Linked DNA regions of Homo sapiens: region 1 is linked to region 2. The links are contacts of gene promoters, found by promoter capture Hi-C in human tissues and cell types (Jung and others, 2019). All regions are on one chromosome and are shown on one strand. The core of a region is centred on a gene start or on the middle of the fragment in contact, and the rest is flanking DNA. Distances in the headings are between cores, read along the strand shown. Region 1 overlaps PTPRA (protein tyrosine phosphatase receptor type A). Region 2 holds the start of EBF4 (EBF family member 4).

The links. Contacts are between HindIII fragments. The study calls those that stand out against the background at their distance.
Region 1: a fragment that was not itself captured here is called in contact with the fragment with the promoter of EBF4 in region 2 in 3 of the 25 tissues and cell types used here (H1 embryonic stem cells, dorsolateral prefrontal cortex and spleen).

Annotation. Positions count from the first base shown.
Region 1 is chr20:2,955,975-2,959,103 of GRCh38, reverse strand. The region is part of intron 3 of PTPRA (protein tyrosine phosphatase receptor type A); the gene reads right to left. Among named protein-coding and RNA genes, the nearest start is that of PTPRA, 84 kb to the right of the region's middle. The HindIII fragment of the contact is 4,102 bases long and covers 1-3,129 here.
Region 2 is chr20:2,691,328-2,694,519 of GRCh38, reverse strand. EBF4 (EBF family member 4) reads right to left here and starts at 1,740. Exons shown (of 17, transcript NM_001395167.1): 1 at 738-1,740. The coding sequence starts at 874. LOC105372507 (a long non-coding RNA gene) reads left to right here and starts at 1,900. Exons shown (of 3, transcript XR_937210.3): 1 at 1,900-2,454; 2 at 3,056-3,180. RefSeq lists an enhancer at 1-569. The HindIII fragment of the contact is 20,356 bases long and covers 1-3,192 here.

The DNA of each region.
Region 1 (3,129 bases), core at 598-3,097, 260 kb before region 2:
CAGTGAAAACCTCATCCGTCTCCGAGAAAGACTTTGAGGCAAACTCCTGTGACTTCCCGACCCCCCATATACAATGCATTTGCAACAACACTATCCTTACTTCTCTCTCTGGTTTCCAAATTTCTACTCCAACATCTCAGAGCTCCATTTCAGGAAGTAGGGTTGAGGTCCTCCTCACTCCTCAAGAATGCCATATGCAAAGCATTTCTCCTGGAGCCTGCTCTAACAGTCCCTGTTCTTTTTTTTTTTTTTTTTTTTTGATACAGTCTCGCTCTGTTGCCCAGGCTGGAGTACAGTGGTGTGATCTAGGCTCACTGCCACCTCCGCCTCCTAGGTTCAAGCAATTCTCCTGCCTCAGCCTCCCAAGTAGCTGGGATTACAGGCGCGTGCCACCATGCCTGGCTAATTTTTGTATTTCTTTTTTTTTTTTTTTTTTTTTTTTTTTAGTAGAGATGGGGTTTCACCATGTTGGCCAGGCTGGTCTTGAACTCCTGACCTCAAGTGATCCACCCGCCTTGGCCTCCCAAAATGCTAGGATTATAGGTGTGAGCCACTGTACCCGGCTTAACAGTCCCTGTTCTTGAAAGCTTTTTGCCCTGTGCTTTCCTATCACTGAAGACACTGTAAGTGGCTCAGTTTCCTTCCTGTCCCCCAGGCCTGCTATTCTCCTGGATGACTTCAATATCCTCATGGATGACAACCAAAATCCCCATCTAGGCCAGCCTCTCAGTTCCTTGACTTCCTTCACTCCAACAACGCTTTATCTCTGCTACACTTGGGCCACTCACGACAATGGCTGTACTCCAGATGCTGTCATCACCCAGAAAAGCCCCCATACTGAATAAATCTTGCCTTCCCACTCTCCAACCACACTTTCTATCCTTGTAGTTCTCTCTGTTATGTCTACCACACCTGCTCTCTGACCTCACCCAGGCCTTCAGTCTCTTGAACCCCTCTCTAATTCTTTTCAATATCTCTGCTCTATCTTTATTTCCTTTTCTACCAAATCAAGAAAACTTGGTGTCAGTTCAATCATTCTTTTGTCCTAACTTCCTTCACTACACTGTTCTTCTTTTACACCAACATGGAAAGAAAAATCCCAAACTGTCAGCCCTATACTTGGACTGCCAGATGCTGCTTAAAAAAAAAAAAAAATCAAATAACTCATAAGGGTTGTATCACTACAAATCACTATTTCCGCTTCAGTGGAACCCTAAGCACTTTCTGCAGTCTTTCTGTCTTTCCTTAGCTCTCTCCAATTCTCCATAGCGGTGCCTTCAAACCTCCTCTCCCCTCTAACCATCTCCTCCCACACATGTGGCTGTTGGCCTTGCCTACCCTTCCAAGAAAATAAAAGCCATTGGACTAGACACCCTTAACTCCCCAGTCACTATATCCAGAAATTTTCCCCTTCCCTGAAATTCCATCCAGGAATCTCAGTCCTTTAGGAACCCTGCATTTTTTTCTACCACCATCTCTAGCTTTAACCCCTCCCTTTCATACCAGTTTTTAACACAATTAAGTTTTCAAAGAAGATGAAAAATTTCTTTGCATCTACATCAATCCTTCAGCTATCATTGTCTCTACTCTGCTTCATAGCCAAATCTCTAGAAAGAGTTGTCTCTCCATGGCAATCTGGCTTCTTGTTCCACCATTCCACTAAAACAGCTGCTTCCAGCCTAAAAGTAAAATGGGTAAACGATATGAAACATAACTCACAAAAAACCATACAGTTCTCTTAAATCTATGAAAAGATGCTCAACCTCACTGATGATCAAAGAAATCAATGCTGAGATACCATCTTTTTTTTTTATTATTTGAGACGGAGTCTCGCTCTGTCGCCCAGGCTCGAATGTTGTGGCGCGATCTCGGCTCAGTGCAAGCTCCGCCTCCCAGGTTCATGCCATTCTCCTGCCTCAGCCTTCCGAGTAGCTGGGACTACAGGTGCCCGCCACCACGCCTGGATAATTTTTTGTATTTTTAGTAGAGACAGGGTTTCACTGTGTTGGCCAGGATGGTCTCGATCTCCTGACCCCGTGATCTGCCCGCCTCAGCCTCCCAAAGTGCTGGGATTACAGGCGTGAGCCACTGCGCCTGGCTGAGATACCATTTTTTAATCTATCACACTGGCGAACATAAAAAACTTTGATAATGCTGCATTGGCAAGAGTTTGAGTAAACAGGTACTCTCATATAATCTATAAATATTCATCAGAATTACAAATGCACAACCCCTCTGACACAATTCCACTTCTGGAAACTTATTCCACGGATACATATCCATACTTTCAAAGTGACCCATGTACAAGGTTATTCAATGTAGCATTGTTTTCAAGAGAAGAATACTGGAAATACCCTTAACGTCTATCAATGGGGGAGAGAGACATGATTAAATAAATTATGGCTGATTTATTTATTTATTTATTTATTTATTTATTTATTTTTATTTACTGAGACAGGGTCTTGCTCTCTCACTCTGGTTGGAGTGCAGTGGGACAATCATTGAACTTGGAAGGATAAAGAGTAATTGGCCAAGACAAGGGTCAGACATAGTCTTTCAAACTGAGATGACTTGGAAGCTTGAAAAAGCCTGTCTGGTCCTGGCAACAAGAAAGACCTAGGTAAGGACATCACAGGGGGCTTCAATAAATATCTGCTAAATGAATGTAAAAATGGCAGACATGAAAGACTAGGGTGGGTGAGGAAAGGGTGGGGCGGGGAAATGCACACAATGAGGCTCGAGGAGGCAGCGATCATATCATGAAGGGGCCTGTACATTACAGTGAAAGTTTTAACTTACCACTGAACACACTGAAGAACTACCAAAGGTTTTATCACAGCAAGGTTAAATGGAACAATTTAGATTTTAGAAGCAATGACTGATGGCAGAGTGAAGGATCAACTGGTGGGGTTTGAAGTAAGGAGGGTCACTGACTGAAGCTTTCTGAAGTAATCTAGCCAATAAACCAGATGGATCTCACAGCAGGGCAGGAATATCTAAAGGAGACTGAGAAGAGGATTTATAGGGGTAGAATCGAAGGCTAATGAGATGTTGGAGGTAAGCAAGGCCCAGATGTCTAACTTCAGTGAACTGCAATGCTATAAGCTGGAGGATGACCAGTTTTGGGGA
Region 2 (3,192 bases), core at 491-2,990:
GGTCAATAAACTTTTAAAGTTCGCTTTCAAATCCTGGAGTCAACCCCCTACTGAGACTCCCAGACCCCTGCAAAGGAGTCAGAGGAGACCGGCGCGGGTGCTGGGTTCCCAGGGACTCTCTGCCTTCCAAAGGACCTACCAGAAAAACACCCGAGGGAAAGGCAGGGGCCCTGCCCAGTTCCCAGGCCAATCAGTCCAGCCAGGCCGACTGCCCACCTCATCTCTTCGCCACCGTCCAGCCCCCAGCCGCTTCTCTGGCTCTGCACACCCCCATCCGCCAACTCTGAGGGGCGTGGGAAAGGAAAAAGGGGGCTGGGTTTCGTGCCTTTCCTGACAGAGAGCTGCGGAATTGGACAAGGAGAGTCACTGGGACTGCCCAGGAAGGAGGGGCTGGACGTTCCTAGACGGCCGGTGGCTGTGGGTCATGGCTGGGAGCTCTGCCTCTTCTCTCAGAGCCATAGACAGCCCGGCTGGGGTGGCGTTCACCGCCGCACCCGCGAGCGGCCGTCAGAAATCTACCGGGGCAGCCCGGAGTGGAGGCAGAAGCCCCGCCCCAGCCCGCCCCACAGCCTCAGGAGGCAGCACAGGCACTCCGGACGGGGTGGGCCGGGGAGCTCGCCGGGACCGTCCAGAGTTAGGGCTCCTTCCGCCCCTGGCTCCAGCAGCTCCAGCAAGCTGAGCTGAGGCGGCGCGCAGCCGTCCAACCCGAGCGCACCGGGTCCGGTCCGAGCGCTTACCTCTGCGCCGCGGTGCTGGCGTCCAGGATGCCCGCGCCCTGCATCCAGGAGCGCACTGAGCCCAGGCCGGCGGGCAGCAGCGGCTCCTCCTTCAGGTTCAGCCCGCTGCGGGGCAGAGCGTCCTGCGCAGGGAACATGAGGGCGCGCGGTGAGTGAGCGCCCCCGCCGCCCCGGATCCGGTCCCGCTGAGGCTGCGGGCGTCTAGCTCAGCCCGACCCGACGGCACCAGGCGCCTCCAGCAGCGCAGCGCCGAGTCCGGGTGGCTCAGTGCGCGCTCGCCTCTTGGGCGCTCCCTCGGAGAAAGCGGGTCCGCGGGCGCCGGCGCTGTCCCCTCCCCTCCTGGGGCGCTGGGCGGGGAGATGGAGGGATTCCCCCGCGGCCTGAGCGCTGGCGGGCGGACTGCGAGCGGGGCGGGGAGGGCGGGGAGCGGAGCCCGCACCCGGTCCGCGCGGAGGCGCCCCAGAGGCGCGCTCTGGCGGCTGCCCGGGGCCGCGGTCGTCGGAGGGGGGGCCCGAGCGCCCCGGGAGCTGCCTCGGGCAAGGCGGGGGCGCGGGGCCGCCCGCCCTTTCCCCCTCGCCGCCCCCACCTCCCGCCCGCCCGCCCGCCCGCGGCGCCAGCGCGGGGCGCTGATTACCATCCGGGAGGCGGAGGCTGCGGGCGCGGAGCTCGGCGGCGGCGGCGACAGTGGCGGCAGCGGCGGCAGGAGCAGCAGCAGCCGCGCGTCCCGGGGAAAGGCTGGGGCCGCGCCGGGCCAGCAGACGCCGCCGCCGCCAGCGCCAGCGCCCCGCGTGCCCCGGCGTCCCGGCCCTGCCGTAGCCCCGGGCGGCAGCACCTGGAGCAGCAGCAGCAGCAGCCCGGCCGACTCCCCCCGGGGCCCGGTTCCCGCGCCGCCCCGCCGCGGCCGCCGCCGCCCGCCGCTCCCCGGGGCCTGGCCTCGGGCCCGGGCCATCCCGCCGCCGCCGCCGCCGCCGCCGCCGCTCCCGGGGGAGCGGTAGCCGAAGGGAGGGAGCGCAGGCGGGAGGAGGGATGTCGGGAGCGGGCGGGCCCAGGGGACGGGGGCCCGGGGGAGGCGGGGGCGGGGCGGCGCGGCCGGCCGAGGGGCGGCCGGGGACGTGACATCATCGGGGGAGGAGCGGCCGGGCCCGGGCCGCGGCGGCGGGGCGGACCCTGGCGAGTCGGTCGCCTGGGCTGGGGGCTGCGGCCTGGTCGAGGCCGCGGGAGGGAACGGAAGAGCCCGGCGGGGGCCACGGAAACCCGCGCAGGGAGGATCCGGGGCCGCGCGGCGAGGGAGCCCGGCCCGAGCGGGAGGTGCGCGCCCCGCTGCGCTCGGGAACCTCCGCGGCCTCCCCGTCGCCGCCGGACGAAGCCCCGGCGTCTTCGCGGCCTCATCTCCCTCCCCCGGCACCCGCCGTACTCTCCGCGCCCGACGCCTTGTGCCTGGACTTGCTGCTCATTTTGACGCCTCCGAGCTTTCGCTCTTGACGTCTTTCTCCCGCGTGACTGTACTCCCGCATTTCCCCGGCGACCCTGACCTCACTTTCACCCCAGCTAAGGACTGAAACGTCCCTGCCGTAGGCTGCGGCCCCAGACAAGCTGGGCGAGGTCCCTGCATCCAACCATCCCGATTCCTGATGCTGGGTTACCTAAGCCTAAAGCATTTTCAGTTTCCATCTGTGCCTTTCAGGAACCTCCTGATTTCTGATTGCGAGTTGGACAGGTAGGCTCAGAGCCCAGCTCACCTCCTGTTTCTCCCCAGCCGCGTCCCGTCTCAGATCCCATTCCTTTTTTTTTATTAGTTCCTGGCACAGAAGTCGTCTGGCCCTTGACCGTGGGGCAGAGACATTTCTGCCCCTCTCCCCACGTTGTCCTGGCCAGGCTTCGAGCAAGCCCAGACTGAGTCCAGCACTTTCCTGCAGAACAGCATGGGGGCCACCTGCCCTGCCTGCCATGTTCACGCTCAGACACCCCTGCAATAACACCTTCCTGCTCCAACTCACTCCCATCCTCTTCTGGGGGGCCTCCAAGTGTGAGTTAGCGTTCTGTCACACATTGGCCCAGATGAGGCGTCCTGGGGGCACTGCTGGTTCTCCTGCCATCACAGAGGCCCTCTCACCTCCTTTCCTGGTCTCTTTACCACCCCTTCTCTCTATGCCTCTCCCCATCACCCACAGGGGGCTGCCATTCCCACCAGGACTCCTTCAGGTCTCAGCTTTTACCCTAGGTGGGATTATCAAACATGGGTTTCTCCTTAAGACAATTCTTAAGCCAGTCTCTTTCTCCATCTCCTGATCTGCCTCTCTAAATCTTGCTTCTCACAGTGTGGTCCCCGGACCAGCAGCATTGACATCACCTGGGAGCTGGTGAGGAATCCAGACTCTTAGGCCCTGCCGGGACCTGCTGAATCGGAACCTGCAATTTACCAAGACCTGTACACACATTACATGTGAGAAGCCCC